Regions from separate parts of the Homo sapiens genome. Here all the other regions are linked to region 1. Evidence: promoter capture Hi-C in 16 types of primary human blood cells and fetal thymus (Javierre and others, 2016). All regions are on one chromosome and are shown on one strand. The core of a region is centred on a gene start or on the middle of the fragment in contact, and the rest is flanking DNA. Distances in the headings are between cores, read along the strand shown.

What was found. The method cuts DNA at HindIII sites, captures the fragments that hold promoters and counts their contacts. A CHiCAGO score of 5 or more calls a contact.
Region 2: a contact is called between the fragment with the promoter of AGTPBP1 here and the fragment with the promoter of FKBP15 in region 1, in 1 of 17 cell types (non-activated CD4 T cells). The highest score is 12.9, in non-activated CD4 T cells.
Region 3: the fragment with the promoter of TUT7 here is called in contact with the fragment with the promoter of FKBP15 in region 1 in 1 of 17 cell types (non-activated CD4 T cells); the score reaches 5.0 in non-activated CD4 T cells.

Annotation. Positions count from the first base shown.
Region 1 is chr9:113,218,421-113,223,336 of GRCh38, forward strand. It overlaps FKBP15 (FKBP prolyl isomerase family member 15), which reads right to left and starts at 2,857. Exons shown (of 28, transcript NM_015258.2): 1 at 2,771-2,857. The coding sequence starts at 2,823. It overlaps SLC31A1 (solute carrier family 31 member 1), which reads left to right and starts at 3,124. Exons shown (of 5, transcript NM_001859.4): 1 at 3,124-3,258. RefSeq lists enhancers at 2,656-2,785, 2,896-3,005, 3,846-4,035. The HindIII fragment of the contact is 3,588 bases long and covers 2,093-4,916 here.
Region 2 is chr9:85,739,360-85,744,275 of GRCh38, forward strand. It overlaps AGTPBP1 (ATP/GTP binding carboxypeptidase 1), which reads right to left and starts at 2,595. Exons shown (of 26, transcript NM_001330701.2): 1 at 2,416-2,595. RefSeq lists an enhancer at 1,609-1,758 and silencers at 1,929-2,248, 2,319-2,918. The HindIII fragment of the contact is 1,776 bases long and covers 1,320-3,095 here.
Region 3 is chr9:86,352,388-86,357,303 of GRCh38, forward strand. TUT7 (terminal uridylyl transferase 7) reads right to left here and starts at 2,023. Exons shown (of 27, transcript NM_024617.4): 1 at 1,884-2,023; 2 at 293-843. The coding sequence starts at 812. RefSeq lists an enhancer at 1,872-2,081 and a silencer at 2,102-2,281. The HindIII fragment of the contact is 6,298 bases long and covers 1-4,916 here.

The DNA of each region.
Region 1 (4,916 bases), core at 1,607-4,106:
CATTTGTAAAATGGGCATAGTAGGTAAAATTATTTCATAGAGTAGAAGGGAGGAATAAATACAATAATGTCTATGTATTTCTTAGAACAGTGTATGGCATTAAGTAAGCACAGAGTACGTATTTATATACTTGTGAACACATCCTATTATCTCAAAATGTGGTTCAACTCAGATACCCCTGCAAGGGTGAAAGCATGCTTGATTGACACGGAAGTTGACCTGCAACCATAAACTGGTATTAGCATTAACATTAAAACTACAGAACTGGCAAAGGTCTCAAAGTTTATCTAGGTCAAACCTCATTATTGAATAGGTTGGGGTATGGAGGGACAAGGATGGAAGATAATCTGTCCAAAGTCACATTCCTAACTGGGGATAGAATCAACATTTGAATCTAGGCTTTTTCCTATCTTTTACAGAACTCAAAATGCTTTCTGATGATCGGTTAATTTATCTTTCTACCATCTTTAGACTGGTGATTTATCATTACTATGCTAATCGGATCTGCCTACACATACCTTTATAATCTAAAACAAATATATACATAATTGGCCCCTTAAAAATGCTTTGTGATTATTATTCCTGGATTGATTTTATTCTACTACTAAAATAAAAGTTTCTTAGGGGCAGAAACTGTGCCTTATTCCTATCTGGATTAGCTGAAGCCAAGTACTATTAGTTCATTACTATTACTTCCCACAACGGTGAGGAATGGGCTAAAACAAACTAACAAACAAAAACAAGGCTCCTGATTACTACTTCTAGATTAATAGTAAACTCTAAGAGGCCTAGAAACTCAGAAGGCAGATTATCAGATACTCCTACTTCTATTAGGCTTGAATATCCTTCATGAAATCAAGCAAATCATGTGTTTAAATCAAGAGACTTGGAACTTAAGCAAGTATACTTACAGTAATATATGGCTATAAAAGAGGAAGTGAAAAGTAGCTGCAGTATTCACTGTCATATGTTCTACTTCCTTAGAGAAAACCAAAAAAGGAATAGCTAAATCAGAGAATTGTGGTGAAACTTTCTGTATTCTCAGTGTTAAATTTGATTTGGTTTTCCTGATAACTGTGGGGAACAAAAATAAACTATAACTTTCCTCAGTATGTCTTTTACCATCAAATTAGCTGTTGTCTATGTCTAGGAGCACAGTCACATGCCTAGAATTCAAGTGTCTCAGATCCTTGAGAAGCCTGCTCAGGAAAAAAGAATAGTTGAGCCACCAAGAATTTATCTCTGGCCAGGAATCTGGAAAAGAGCACATGGCTGTCATTACCTATCCCATAATTTTCAGTCAGCTTGGACTGATTGTTGCATGAAAATTGGGAGCCCTAACATTACAGACTTCTCCCAAATACTTTCACATAGTGAAGAATGCGAATTTAAAGTGGAATAGGGAAAAAAGGAACAAAAGCACAGCTTAACTGTAAAATAACTGAGAAACGGAAAGAACTCAAAGTGGAACTAAGTGAATGCAGGCCATCTAAAGACGGGGTAGGAAGGGAACAGAGTGGTGAGAGTGAAAAAGACTAAAAGGTAGGTAATATAGAGCTAGTCAGTGTAAATCAAAAATTCCTACTTAAGGACAAAAGAAGGCCAGTGTCATTTTATGGTCATTCATCTATTAACTCATTTGTTTATGTATTGTCTATGACTACTCTCACCCTACAAGGCAGAACTGAGTATTTGTGGTTGCAATAGAAACCACATGGCCCAACAGATCTGGAAGCAACTTAAGGGCAGGCACAGCAGTTTAATCATTTTTGTAACCTCTTAGCATTTAGCAGAATAAGGGGCATATGTGGTGCATTTGTCATTTTTCCAGTACATTCTTCAGCACGCACAAAATTTGTTAAGCATATGTTCAAAGAAAAGCTCTGCAATGATCAGAGCTTGGTAGCTCACAAGTTTGGAGGAAGTCAAGCTGTCCACTGGCACAACACAATGGAAAAGGCTAAACTGACTACTAAAAGAGACAAAACCCTTCCTCTCTTTAAAGATTTCTATTCCAGGCTGGTATATATTAATATAATGCTTGGGGAAACTGGAGAATGACAGAAGTCTGTTACGTTGGTTTTAAGCTTTAAGCTTTACAAAGTGCAATTTCGCAGCTATTATTCATTCAACAGCCACTTCCTGAGCACTCACTATGTGCTAGGTACCATGCTGCATGCTAGACAGAAATGAACACCATAAGCAGTCCCTGTCCGGTGAGGACTCATAATCTAATAGGTGCGGGGTATAAGAATAGAGGCAAACACACCTAGCTGCAGGAATAAGGAAGAGAAAGCAATTCATTCTGCCTGAGGTTGCAGAAGGAAAAGCATCCAAAACGTGACATCCGAGCTGGGCCTTGAAGAATGCTAGAGCTGACCCACCAAGGCCTGGTTCTAAAGTGTCTTCGCCTTCTCCATGGAGAAAAGAAGTCTCACATCAGCCCCAGCTGACTCCTATAAAAATTCTGAGGCAGGAAGTCTCATCAGCAATCATTCCCATTTCACCGGAGAAATTGTGACCCAGAATGCAAAAGGCAAACCCAGGGCTATCTTCCCGCCAAGAGAGATGCCGGGTCCCGAACCTCAGATCGGCAGGGTCAGCACAGTTGCAAGTTCTGCCCAGATTCTGAGAGGTGTAGAGCACCGGAATGTGGCAAGGGTCTCCCCCCGGAAGTTGGGAAAAGGCCTGAGAAGAGATCGACCCCCCTCCAACAATCCGCCGGTATCTCTCAGCCACGCCCTCCAGCGCATACTTCTCAGTCACTCACCCGCCGCTCGGCGAGAGGAAATCGGTGTCGTCCTCGTCCCCCGCACCGAACATTGCGTTGGCTTTCACCGGGTTGCGGGGAGGAAGCTGGGTATTCCCAGAGTCCCAGGGCCTGTCACCGCCGACGTCGTAAAATGCCGCGGCGGCGTGCTGCTTTCCGGCAGGGCGAACTCCAGCACGGTCTCTGGACCGAAAGTAGACTGGGCTCTGGAGAAGGTGGGGCAAAGGCAAATGAGAGGCTCGCGCGGGCACGAGCGCCGAGTGACGTCAGGCCTCTCCAGCCCGCAGCGGGGCGGAGCTTCACAGCCCCTTGCAGGGATTGGTCGGTAATGCTAGGGGGCGGGAGGGGGCGGGAAATCCTCGGCCTCGGTGGCGGTGGTGGACACGTCGAGCCGGGTAGAAGTGGAGGGGCCGTTCGAAGAGTCGTGAGGGGGTGACGGGTTAAGATTCGGAGAGAGAGGTGCTAGTGGCTGGACTTGACCTGGAAAGGTAAGGCTTCTCTCGGCCCCTCTTTCGCACCCCTGTGCATGGGTACCGTCCTTTTCCCAGCGGGACAAGGACCTTCCTCGCCGCTTTCCTCAGCTCCGCGGAAGGAGAAAGAGCTCGGGACTGGAGGGTTAAAGACTGGGGCTTCGGCCCGGCCCCTGCAGTGGCATAGCCAGAGTGACCTTGGGCCGGGGTGCTCGGTGCCTCAGTTTCCCCGTGTATGCAACCGGCCATTTGTCCAGTTCTTCCATGTGCCTGCTGGTCCAGAAGATTTTAGAGCTCAGAGGCCATGGATTTCAATCCCGGCCTCCTCGTAATCTCAGAATTTACAGATAGGGAGACGAAGGAACTAAGCACCCGGGTGACTAGTCCGAGGTCACAAAGAGTAAAGGGCAGACTGAGACTGGATTCCTCGTCCTTTGATTCAGGACATAGTGAGCTAGTGGGTGAACAAGAACCTTATCAGCCCTTAAGCACTGTGTGCCCTTACAGAGTGACTATTGAAAGACTGTAGCATACACCTCGAGGAAAGTCCCCTTTCTAGAGTCCACCTGTATTCTACGCGGATGAGGTGCAGAAGAGCTAAGATATTCTGGCGGTGGGTGATGGAAAGGAGGATACTTTGGAGGCAGACACATCCCCACCCCAACTTTGGCGTGGGTTTCCCTGGGTCTTCCTGCGACAGCCCTAAATCAACATCAATTGTGGCGGACTCCTCTGCCTCCAGTTTCCACCCTATCTGTATCTTACATAAGTATTTCTTTGGTTAACCTGGTATCATTCTCGAAACAATCCTGGGGTAGTCCTGGCTTAGACAAGGTGTGGCTAAGGAGATAGTGTCCCAGCGTAGCGTCCACAGACTCACTGGAGTTCTTGGGCTTCCCCTCACAGTCAGGTTGGTACTACAGGTGTCCCTTACGTGAATGTTTCAATCTGTCAGTATGAAATTGAAATGAAATGATTGGTAGCTCCCTCCCAGAGAACTTTGCACCTCCTGGCAAAGATGTTAAAGCAGCGAAGGCTCACAGTTGGAATGATGCAACTGGAATCTAAGCACTAGAACCGGAACTGGAACTAGAATCTAAGGACTAGCACTAGAACTGTTGCAGTAGCTCTGTTTAGTGTGTGAACTTGGCTACCTCTTGGAGGTGTTGGGGGAGTAACTGGATTAAGTACCATGGCACTTTCTAATCCCTCTCCCCAACACCGGTCACTGTGATTGCAGCACTGAAACATCTAAATGTTTAACAGAAAGAGCTTGCTAGCCCCTGGCTTACATTATCTATGGTATTTTTAACATGGAATGAATACTTAAAGTCACTTGCAAAGCAGTCTCACTGCAGAATCTTTCTAGGTGTTTATGACATGTCCTTCCAGCCTTTTCTTTAAAAAAAAAAAATGGCCAAGGGAATATTTGAACTCTTATCTTGTATTCTTGGGTGGAGCTGATTTTATCCTGGATGTTTAAGTAGCTTTTGTAGGTACTCAGGAATCCTAAAATCAATAGCCTTTTTGGTGATTGGAACATCACGAACATGCATACGCAGATTATCACTGTAGAAACACAGCTGCTGATTCTCATTAGCAGTATGAGGAGGAGGAAGATGATGGTGAGTCTTGCCAGGCTTTGAACTGCAGGACTGGGTGCACCTAAAAAAAAA
Region 2 (4,916 bases), core at 1,345-3,844, about 27 Mb before region 1:
CTTCAAGCAAGAAAAGCAGATTTGGGAAGATGAATACTTTGGATGAGGTTTAAAAAAATTCAGGCCAGGACGGGCGTGGTGGCGGACGCCTGTAATCCCAGGACTTTGGGAGGCCGAGGTGGGCAGACCACCTGAGGTCAGGAGTTCAAGACGAGCTTGGGTAACATGGTGAAACCCCGTCTCTACTAAAAACAAAAACTTAGCCGGGCGTGGTGGTGTGCTCCTGTAATCCCAGCTATTCGGGAGGCTGAGGCAGGAGAATCGCTTGAACCCGGGAGGCAGAGGCTGTAGTGAGCCAAGATCGTGCCACTGCACTCCAGCCTGGGCGACAAGAGCGAAACTCCGTCTCAAAAAAAAAAAAAAAAAAATTCAGGCCAAGCTTGGTGGCTCACGCCTGTAATCCCTGCACCTTAAGAAGCTGAGGCTAGTGGATCACCTGAGGTTGGGAGTTCGATACCAGCCTGGCCAACATGGTGAAACCCGTCTCTACTAAAAACACAAAAATTAGCTAGGCGTGGTGACGCGCGCCTATAATCAAGAAGCTGAGGCGGGAGAATCGCTTGAACCCGGTAGGGGCAGGTTGCAGTGAGCCGAGATCGCACCACTGGCACTCTAGCCTGGGCGAGAGAGTGAGACTCCGTCTCAAAAAAAAAAAAAAAGTAAAATACAAATTACAAAATTTCATAACTGTTGGACCTCTTTTCCTTCTGCTAATGGAAGTAAAACCATTATTATATAGCAGCCTAGCCAGACTTTTCTAAAGAGAAGAATGCCTCAATTCGGAAAAGCTTTATAAAAATTGCTTCTACAAAAGTTTAATTAATAGATTTAAATGCTTTGCAATGTTGGCCAAATACGAGGGTAGTTTTAAGCCTATCCACTTCATTTCCGAGTTCAGAGTGAGTCTGCAGTTGTAATTATGTGATTAATCAATTCAAGGCAGAGTTTTGTGATCATTAAAAATGAACCTGTAACTTCACCATAGAATTTAACTTAAGAGAAGTGGAATGGGAAAAAGAGCAAGTCATATTAGAACTCTGCCTGCATGATGAGAAACAGTGGGTAAGGCACGACTTATTATTTCGCAGTAATTCTACATAGGAAATACAGATCTTTCAGAGTTTTGTTTGGTTTTGACATTTGGCACATGTTTTAAAATAAGCACCATTTAAAGTTCCTTAAATAAATCATTTCTTTTTTGGCCTACTGAACTAAAAACATTCCACAATACAATTACAAAAATAACTTTCCGGTTTTCTCAGACAACCAGTTTATAAGAATAATTCAGAAGTTCACAAAGGATAATTTGATTTACATAAAGCTTAAAAAACGGACATAAAAGGTAAGTGAAAATGACCGATTAAGAAGACTGTTAAGGTCCTTTCTAACTACAAATTGTCATGCATTGTAATTAAACACAACTACAATGTTAAACACCTGAAGGAAAAAACCCACATAGAATTAATACTGCCAAAGAAAATTTCCGCTATCTTCAGGCACTTGAGTAAGCTATGTTAAAACGGGAAATGGGCTTTAAATTATCAACATTCACATCGATTACACTATGATGCATGAAAACTCCATTCTACAATGAGTAAACGCCCAAGAAAGGAACCCAACCAACTCCAATTGCCCTGGTGCTCGTAAGAGGTTTATACCGCACAAGGGGTAAAACAACGGTAGAGTCGAGCAAGCCTTTGGGTTACAACAGTCCTTGAACACTTGCAATTGAGAACCCGCAATTCAGGAAGGAAGACACTAAGGAAACTCTGCACTGTCATCCAGGGTGATCTGATTCAGGTTCAAACCAAACGCTCAAGGCGACAAGTTGTAAACAGAAGACACACTTCAGCTCAAACCACCCAGCGAGAGGAAGCAAACGTGCCCATCGCCGATGTCACAGCAAATCCCACCTTGCTGGCGCTCAGTCGGGAACGCTAGAATTCTCGAAGCACAGGGGCCCGCGATTCAGCGGCCCGCTACCACTGGGGCGGGGGAGAGCGGGGCTGGGCGCGCCCGCCCCCGGCCCTGCAGCCCCTCGGCTGGACTCCCCGCGGCGCCGCGAGCTCGGGCCCGAGAGAAAGGGCTGAGCAGAAAGGGCGGCCTCCGCCCAGAGACCGCGCCCGATACCCTCCGCAAGGTCTGGGACGGGGATCCACCGAGGGTCCGGGGACTGGGGAAGGCGTTTTCCAGACCCAGTCAAAGCCCCACCCCGTCAGGGCTTTCCCTCAAGACCGAGTGCGTTCCCCTCACGCGTCACATGTGTAACATGCGTTACACAACCCGTCAGGTAAGGGGCGCAGGGATCCGGGGTCGCCCCTCCTACCCCCGGGCGCCGTCGCTCGCATCTCCCGCGGCCCGGGGAGAGCAGAGGGACGGCCGGCCGGGACATGAGGACTGCAGCAGGGCGCTCACCGGCTCAGGATGGGGCGCTGGCGGGGACCGCGCAGAGCCGCAGCACCCGGCTCAGCACCTGGATCACGGCGGATCCCTCGCCGCCCGCCGCCCGGTGTTTTCATACAAACCCCGGTGGCAGGCGAGGCGGAGGCGGCGGCGGCGGCAGCTGCGGCGGCGGCGCTGGAGGCGGCGGAACCTGTCCGCATCCCGGGCAACGTCAGCGCGGCGCCCCGCCCACCGCACGCCTTGCCAGCCGGCTCCCAGCACGCGCAGGGAGTGGGGGCGGGGCGTGCGAGGCCGCGAAAGGGGCGGGGCGGAGCGCACGCCCTCTTCCCGCCGCGTCCCTTGTTACCTCCGTGCGCGCTGCGCCCCGCCTCTCTGCGCGCCTGACGGGAGGGAGCGCGCGCGTGGGGGCGGAGCGCGCACGGGAGCGGGAATTAGGGGCGGGTGTTCCGCGCGCTGCCGGTCCCTTGTACCCAGCAGCCCCGGCCACCGCCCCTCCGTACCGAACTGCGAGCGACTCCCCACGTTCTTCAAGTCATCTTTCTGTACACTCCCAACGAGGGCCCCAGCCTTTTCCCGGAACTAAGCCCGCGCCCACCCCCTCCCCCGCCATCAATCAGTCACTTTCTTAGGAAGGGTTCTTAAAGCTCCCCACGTGATCCCGGGGTCGCATCAAACGCTGGGGACTGCGGTAAAGCTTAGACCTTTCCTGACCTCAAGGAGGGTCCATAATAAGAGGCTGGAAGGGACATGCTGTTACTACAATCGGGCTCCCAGAAAACAACAGGATTGCACCTTGTGGCCAAATCTCAGTAAATTAGATGCCTAGTGCTGCAGCGAACAAAATAGCATGCTGATTTACTGTTTTTTGAAAAAGTGCCTGCATATAATCAAAACGGTAATGCTAAGTTGGCTACTGAAGGCAAAGGCGGAATGTTTTATCTGAGCCAAAGTAATGTGTCAGAGAAATTACTAATACACCCCCTTCTGTTTTGACTGTACTTCAGTGTACTGCAATGTATTGCAAATAAATACTGACATCATTTACTTTTTCACGTTGCACAAGAACATGTTTGCTACTGTTTATGGTAAGGAATGTAATATCACAACTAGATAAGGGAATGCATTGAGAACTGTGAGATTTTTGTTTTGTTTTATGATCTTGTTCAAATAAAATTAAGCAGGTGTGAAAGCAATTCAAAAAGTAACCCAAGGTACACCACAGTGCTTCTTACAGTTTGCCCTTGGTAGATGTCTTTATTCAGATGAACAAGAAACTGCCATTTTATAAACATCGTAGTTTCCCTCATCGTGAGCACTAAAAGATAGGTTACGGTATTTAAAATAATTTTGAAACAACCACCACCCCAAACCACCCAATCAGAAACGTATTATCTGAAAATACCCAATAATAATGTAATAATTTTACAATAATGCTAAATATGTATGTAATATACCTGAAACTTTTCTTAAAGAACATGTTTCTAAATGAGTCAACCTGCAATATAGGAAGATATTATGTGGATGTGTGTGTTTGTGGAATTTGAATCCCACTTTCACAAGCACTGTTAGCATAGTTTGATGACCACAACACAGACCCAGGAGATTAACCCACACAAGATAAATAGCAGCATTACATAGCTTTGAAATGATTCCAATCACATAGTTTGCCACAAGAGTGAGTGATTTATGTTTTGCGGTAATTAAGAACTTAGAGCTACTCCCCCACCCCCTGGGAATGTGACATCACTCTTCATCAGATCCCACGTGTATGAAGTTGAAATAAACTTCACCTCTCCTAGCTAATGTGACGTTACACCTTATCAAACACCATATATATGTTACTGACCTCAACTACAGGATTTCGAAATACATATAAACTCAAGAATTTGCAAGATACTTTGAGAGCTCAGCGGGTGGCAGATCGCGTGCTCTGTCAGCCACTTCCCTGAACGCTACCAGCTCAGGCTGCAACAGGGCCACACCCTGTTAGCCTTTAAGCTTTGAAGCCTGTCCACCAACACTGGCACAGCCCTCTAGCATCGTGGGACCTTGCATATCCTCACCGATCTCCTGTATGTTGGACACCATCTCTCCCGAGAACCTCAGCCTCCAAAAGGTAAAGGTACACCTCAGTTGTTTTTCTTTTTCTTTTTCTTTTTCTTTCTTTTTTTTTTTTTTTTGAGACAAGACTCTCACTCTGTTGCCAAGGCTGTAATACAGTAGTGCAATCATGGCTCACTGCAGCCTTGACCTCCCAGGCTTAATGAATCGTACTACCTCAGCCTCCCACTGAGTATCTGGGACTACAGGCACACGTCACCACACCTGGCTAATTTTTTTAATTGTTTTTGTAGAGTCGGGGTCTCCCTAAGTCACCCAGGCTGGTCTCAAACTCCTGGGCTCAGCAGTCCTCCTGCCTTAGCCTCCCAAAATGCTGAGATTACAGGCATTAATACCACACCCACCTCAATCCTTAATCAGACTTTACTTTCCACAGAGGTCTGCTTCAATCT
Region 3 (4,916 bases), core at 773-3,272, about 27 Mb before region 1:
ATATAGCTACCCTCTTCTGTAAAAAACACGTTACAGAAAACATGTTTACTGACGTAAAGTGAGCCCTGGGGCAAAGTAAACTTTTAAAGGGATCAACATATGAAATGTGTTTTAGCTGCTCAAATATCATGATTACTATCCTTAAAATAATCACACTAAGTGACCATTTCTTAAAACAGAAACTGTGAAAAACTGAAACTAAATTGCTGAAAATAACAAAACTCATTTGGATGAAAAAGAATAAAACATTGCTGACTCTGGGGTTGTGATCTGACAAGTTGGAAAACATTACCAGGACTTCCTGCTTCCATTTCTGACGTGGTTTCTAGGCTTGTTAGGTCTTTATGAAACAGTCGTCTTACAGTTCTGCAGCCTCTTGTGTCTTGCCACCTATAACCATCTTCATTTTCTTGAAAGGAGTCTTTTCTTTGTCGGTTTATAACAGGAATTCTAGGTCCAGGTTTGAATTCTCTCCAGTTGTCTGAATTACCAGTATGTTCATCAGACAGCCATCTCTTACTCTGATCTTTGTGGCTGTCATTCATCCAAGCGGGTTGACTGTAGATTGGGTTTTTAAATGCATATGGATTGCTGGAAACAGCACATGGTCCTTTTCTGGGGGTATTCCCATAGTTCCCTGGTGTTATCTTCTTTTTTTGAAGGCCCTTTTCCATTTTACTGCCATGGCCTTTAGCATGGTCATCTATTATTAAATAATCTTGTTGGGGGTGACCCCTTCTGAAGTCATCATCATCCATAGTCCCCCGGTCTTTAGTGCGCTTCACGAAATAAGGTTTTGCTGTATCTCCCATGGTCTTTGACTTCAATTTTCTTACTTTGCACCTGAAAGAAGGTATTTTGGGGAAATATCAAACTATATAACAAGATATCATACAAGTATACAAAATAACAATTTATCGTACAGATGCCCCAAAGCCTGTAAGAAAGAAACTCCCTATTTTTTTAAAATAAAAATTCTATCACATTCTTAATAATCAGTGCTTTACCCTAGAGGTTGGGAGGCTTGGTCCTCTAATATTCTTCATGAAAATTAATACTTACTATTTAGCATGAAGATTAAATGTGTGAATAAGAGAAGCTCTATAGGTTCCAGAACTGTAGCATAGTAGAATATTACTCATATCAAGTATGGTCGGCTTTTCCCTCTGTAACAAGGCGTTTCTCTTCAAAGAAAACCTCATCCCAAGCCAATATTATTACTAAACTACCGAAACAGTCTTTTGTTTTTTAAGTTGGCAATTACTTGTAAGTGTTATACACCGAAACTTTACGTGAAAGGAGTACTACATTTCTCAACTCCAATTTTCCGTCCCTTCACCACCCCTATTCTGGACAGACCGGCTTTGAGCGCTTAGGTTACGGAGGGGCTGGGCTTCCGACCAAGGTGCAGCTGTAATTAAAGAGGCTGGGTTTCCGATCAAGGGACAACTCCATCTAACCTCCTCAATCCCCGTTCTCCAACCCCAAACAAGTTTGGTTTTGTCAGGAACAGCAATTCCCTGAGGAATGACACTCCTCTTCAATCCCCATCTGACCGCTCCACCACCGATCTGCCTTAGTTTCCACCCTTTTGAGCCCGACGTGGAGAAAGAGGAGGCGTCCCTGCACTCCTGGCCAAGAAGCCACCGTGGGGACCAGGAAGCAGGAAGTGACCTGCTGTCTCCATGGGGTTCCAGGGTTCCCCCGGCCGGCCAGGGGGCCAGAGCCGAATGTCTTGACCCAAATCCCGTCTTCTGCGCCCGCAGTCTGACAAAAAGTGAAAACACGGACTCGAACCCGAGGGCTCAGCCTCTGCCGGCCTGGGGGTTCCTCGGTCACCCAAACTGGTGCGAGGAGGCCGGCGGGGGATGGAACCAACGTACCTCCGGGGCCAGGCCGGACAGCTACTCTGGAGTCCAGGAAACCAACTGGAGAATCAGCCCGGAGGCGAGTCTGGCAGGGACGTTGGGAGAAGGCGCCCAAGAGCACTCACCACCTTCGCCGCGGTCCCCAGCCTCTTCCTGTCCCGGCCGGGCTCCCTCTCCGTGTTTTCCTTCGGCCCCACTTCCGGCGCTCAGCGCTGTCTCATTGTGCGCGATTGGGAGCCGACTGTGCCCCCGCCCTAGCGCTCCGCCGCGCACACCGGAAACGAGCGACGCGCCCCGCCCCGCGGTGCCCCGCCCACGCTCCGACCCCGCCTCCCGCGCCTTTGCCAGCCTGGCCTCTCCTGTCCGGCGCCCCAGCGCACTCGCTCCAGGTGTCGGGCGCCGGGTCTGGCCACCGGGCGCAACCGTCGGAGCGGGCTAATTACTGGCTCGCCGGATAGCCGGTTCGCCGGCGCTTGGGGGCCAGGCCCGAACTTCTTACCAGAGCGGCGCCCGCCCCTTTTCTCTCCCGGCTTCGACGCTCCTCTGGTTCCCCTCTCTGCTCGGGAGGCTAAGTGCTCGGGAGAGGCGCGGGAGCCAAGACTTATGCACCCGGAGAGGGACGCGGAGCCAGCGGTCGGGCAAAGCCGCATTCCCCGCGCTTGGGGCCTCGGCTTTGCCCCTGGGTGCTCCCCGGTTACTTCCAGGGGGAGTAAAGGCTCCGAGGCCTCGTAGCGCTCTTGGTGTTTTTCTGATAATTCGTAGTGATTAATGTTTTCGTGAATTCTTAATTGCCGACCTTGTAGAAATGCCAGCATTTAAACATCCACTGCTCACCCAGATCTCAAAGTGGTCAAGGAAAATGCTCTGCTTTTTTCTTAGGTTGTGTAAGGATTACTTTTACTTGGAAAAAAAAAAAATCAGTTCATTTCGAAGAATATGTGTAATGGCAAGGGATGACCAGAGAGCGTTACATTCGAATTTTTGAGTTGAAGAGTGCACACCTCGAACTCGGGGTTGCTTTTTCTTTCTTTACTGTATGACCTTCCTTGCTGTTTACAGTGTTCTAAATGCTTTGAAAAACATCAAGCAACTAGTGAAATTAGGGAGCGTTGGGAAAATCGACAGTTTTCATTTCTCTGCTTTTTTAAAGCATGTAAATTGAAAGCTGTCAGGTCCTGTGGAGCAATGGTCTTAAAATAATAACACACAAAGTTCTGGCTATGCCAATAACTGTTTTGAAGGCTTTACAAATATTAACTCCTTTGTTTTATATTTTTGTAGAGACAGGGGTCTCCTATGTTGCCCAGGCTGCTCTCCAATTCCTGACCTCAAGCCATCCGCCCAACTTGGCCTCCCAAAGTGTTGGGATTACAGGGGTGGTCCACCATACCCAGCCTTAACTTCTTTAATCCTCACAGCTTCATGAAGACTATATCATTATCCCACTTTTAAAGATGAGGACATTTAGCACTTGCAGTGAAGTAAATGGCACTGCTGCAATCCAGACCCTGAATATGAGGCTGTTATTAACCATGTGGCTATACTAAAAGTGATATAAAACACATTCCTACAACTTTTATATAATTCCTTACTTAGATATTTTGATTGTGAAAATACGTGAGGATCAAACTGATAGTCTCTTCAACAGGCAGACAGTGGCCTTGAAAATATAGTCCAAAAGGGAGTGTGGAGATGCATGATTACATTAATTCTGAGACAGCAGCGTCACCACGCCCCACCCAAACCAGTAATTCCTGTGCAAAAGAACTGGTTTAGAAATCTGCCTCCACCTAGAGTTCTAGAGTAGCAGCAGAGGATACATACTTTTAAGGATTTTTTTTTTTTTTTTGAGATGGAGTGCCACTCTGTTGCCCAGGCTGGAGTGCAGTGGCATGATCTCCGCTGGCTGCAACCTTTGCCTCCACCTAGAGTTCTAGAGCAGCAGCAGAGGATACATCTTTCTAAGGATTTAATTTTTTTTTTTTGAGACAGAGTCTTACTGTGTTGCCCAGGCTGGAGTGTAGTGGTGCGATCTTGGCTTACTGCATCCTCTGCCTCCCAGGTTCAAGTGATTCTCCTGCCCCAGCCTCCCAAGTAGCTGGGATTGCAGACAGGCACCACTATGCCTGGTTAAGTTTTGTATTTTTAGTAGAGACGGGGTTTCACCATGTTGGCCAGGCTGGTCTGGAACTCCTGACCTCAAGTGATCCACCGGCCTTGGCCTCCCAAAGTGCTAGGATTACAGGCGTAAGCCACCAGGCCTGGCCCGATTTAAAATACTTTTGCCAGGCACTTTGGCTCCTGCTTGTAGTCCCAGCAACCCTGGAGACTGAGGTAGGAGGATACCTTAAGCCCAGGAGTTGGAGGCTGCAGTGAGCTATGATGGTGCCACCACACTCCAGCCTAGGCAACAGGGCAATACCCTGTCTCTCTCAAAAATAAATTTAAAAAATAAAACGTTTTGAATTTGCGTTTTCTTCAACGTCTTTCCCAAAGCCCAACTTCTTTTATTCTAATGGTTGCTTTTAAGATTCATTTTGAGGACAAATCAGGCTCTCTCAAATAAGATGCAGTACTAATCAAAATATATTGACAGCAGAATATACCTTTTTCTGTCCATATTATGCTGTAATGGATATTTAAATTGGTCCTAGGAATTCTTACAATCTGGTTGGAAATTTTGATTTGAGTTTTCTTTGGATGTCACTGGAAGGATTAATGAGTTTCTCAGAATCTTTATGGTGATTGCTTCACGGTCTTGACATATTTCCAACAACCTGGAGCAGAAATGTGAGGGCAAAGGCTGCCATATACTGTTAAGCAATGTTCAGAGGACCTTAATACTGCTCCATATGTTACAATATATTTTCTATCTTGAGCTTAACATTGTAATACAACTTGAAATCTTGTGATTCTATCTCGAAATTAACATTTAATACATAATATGTCTTGACATTCTTGTAATTCTATCTAGAAATTAACATTGTAGTACATGTAATACATCTTGGCATTTTTGTAATTCTATCTTGAAATTCACATTGTAATACA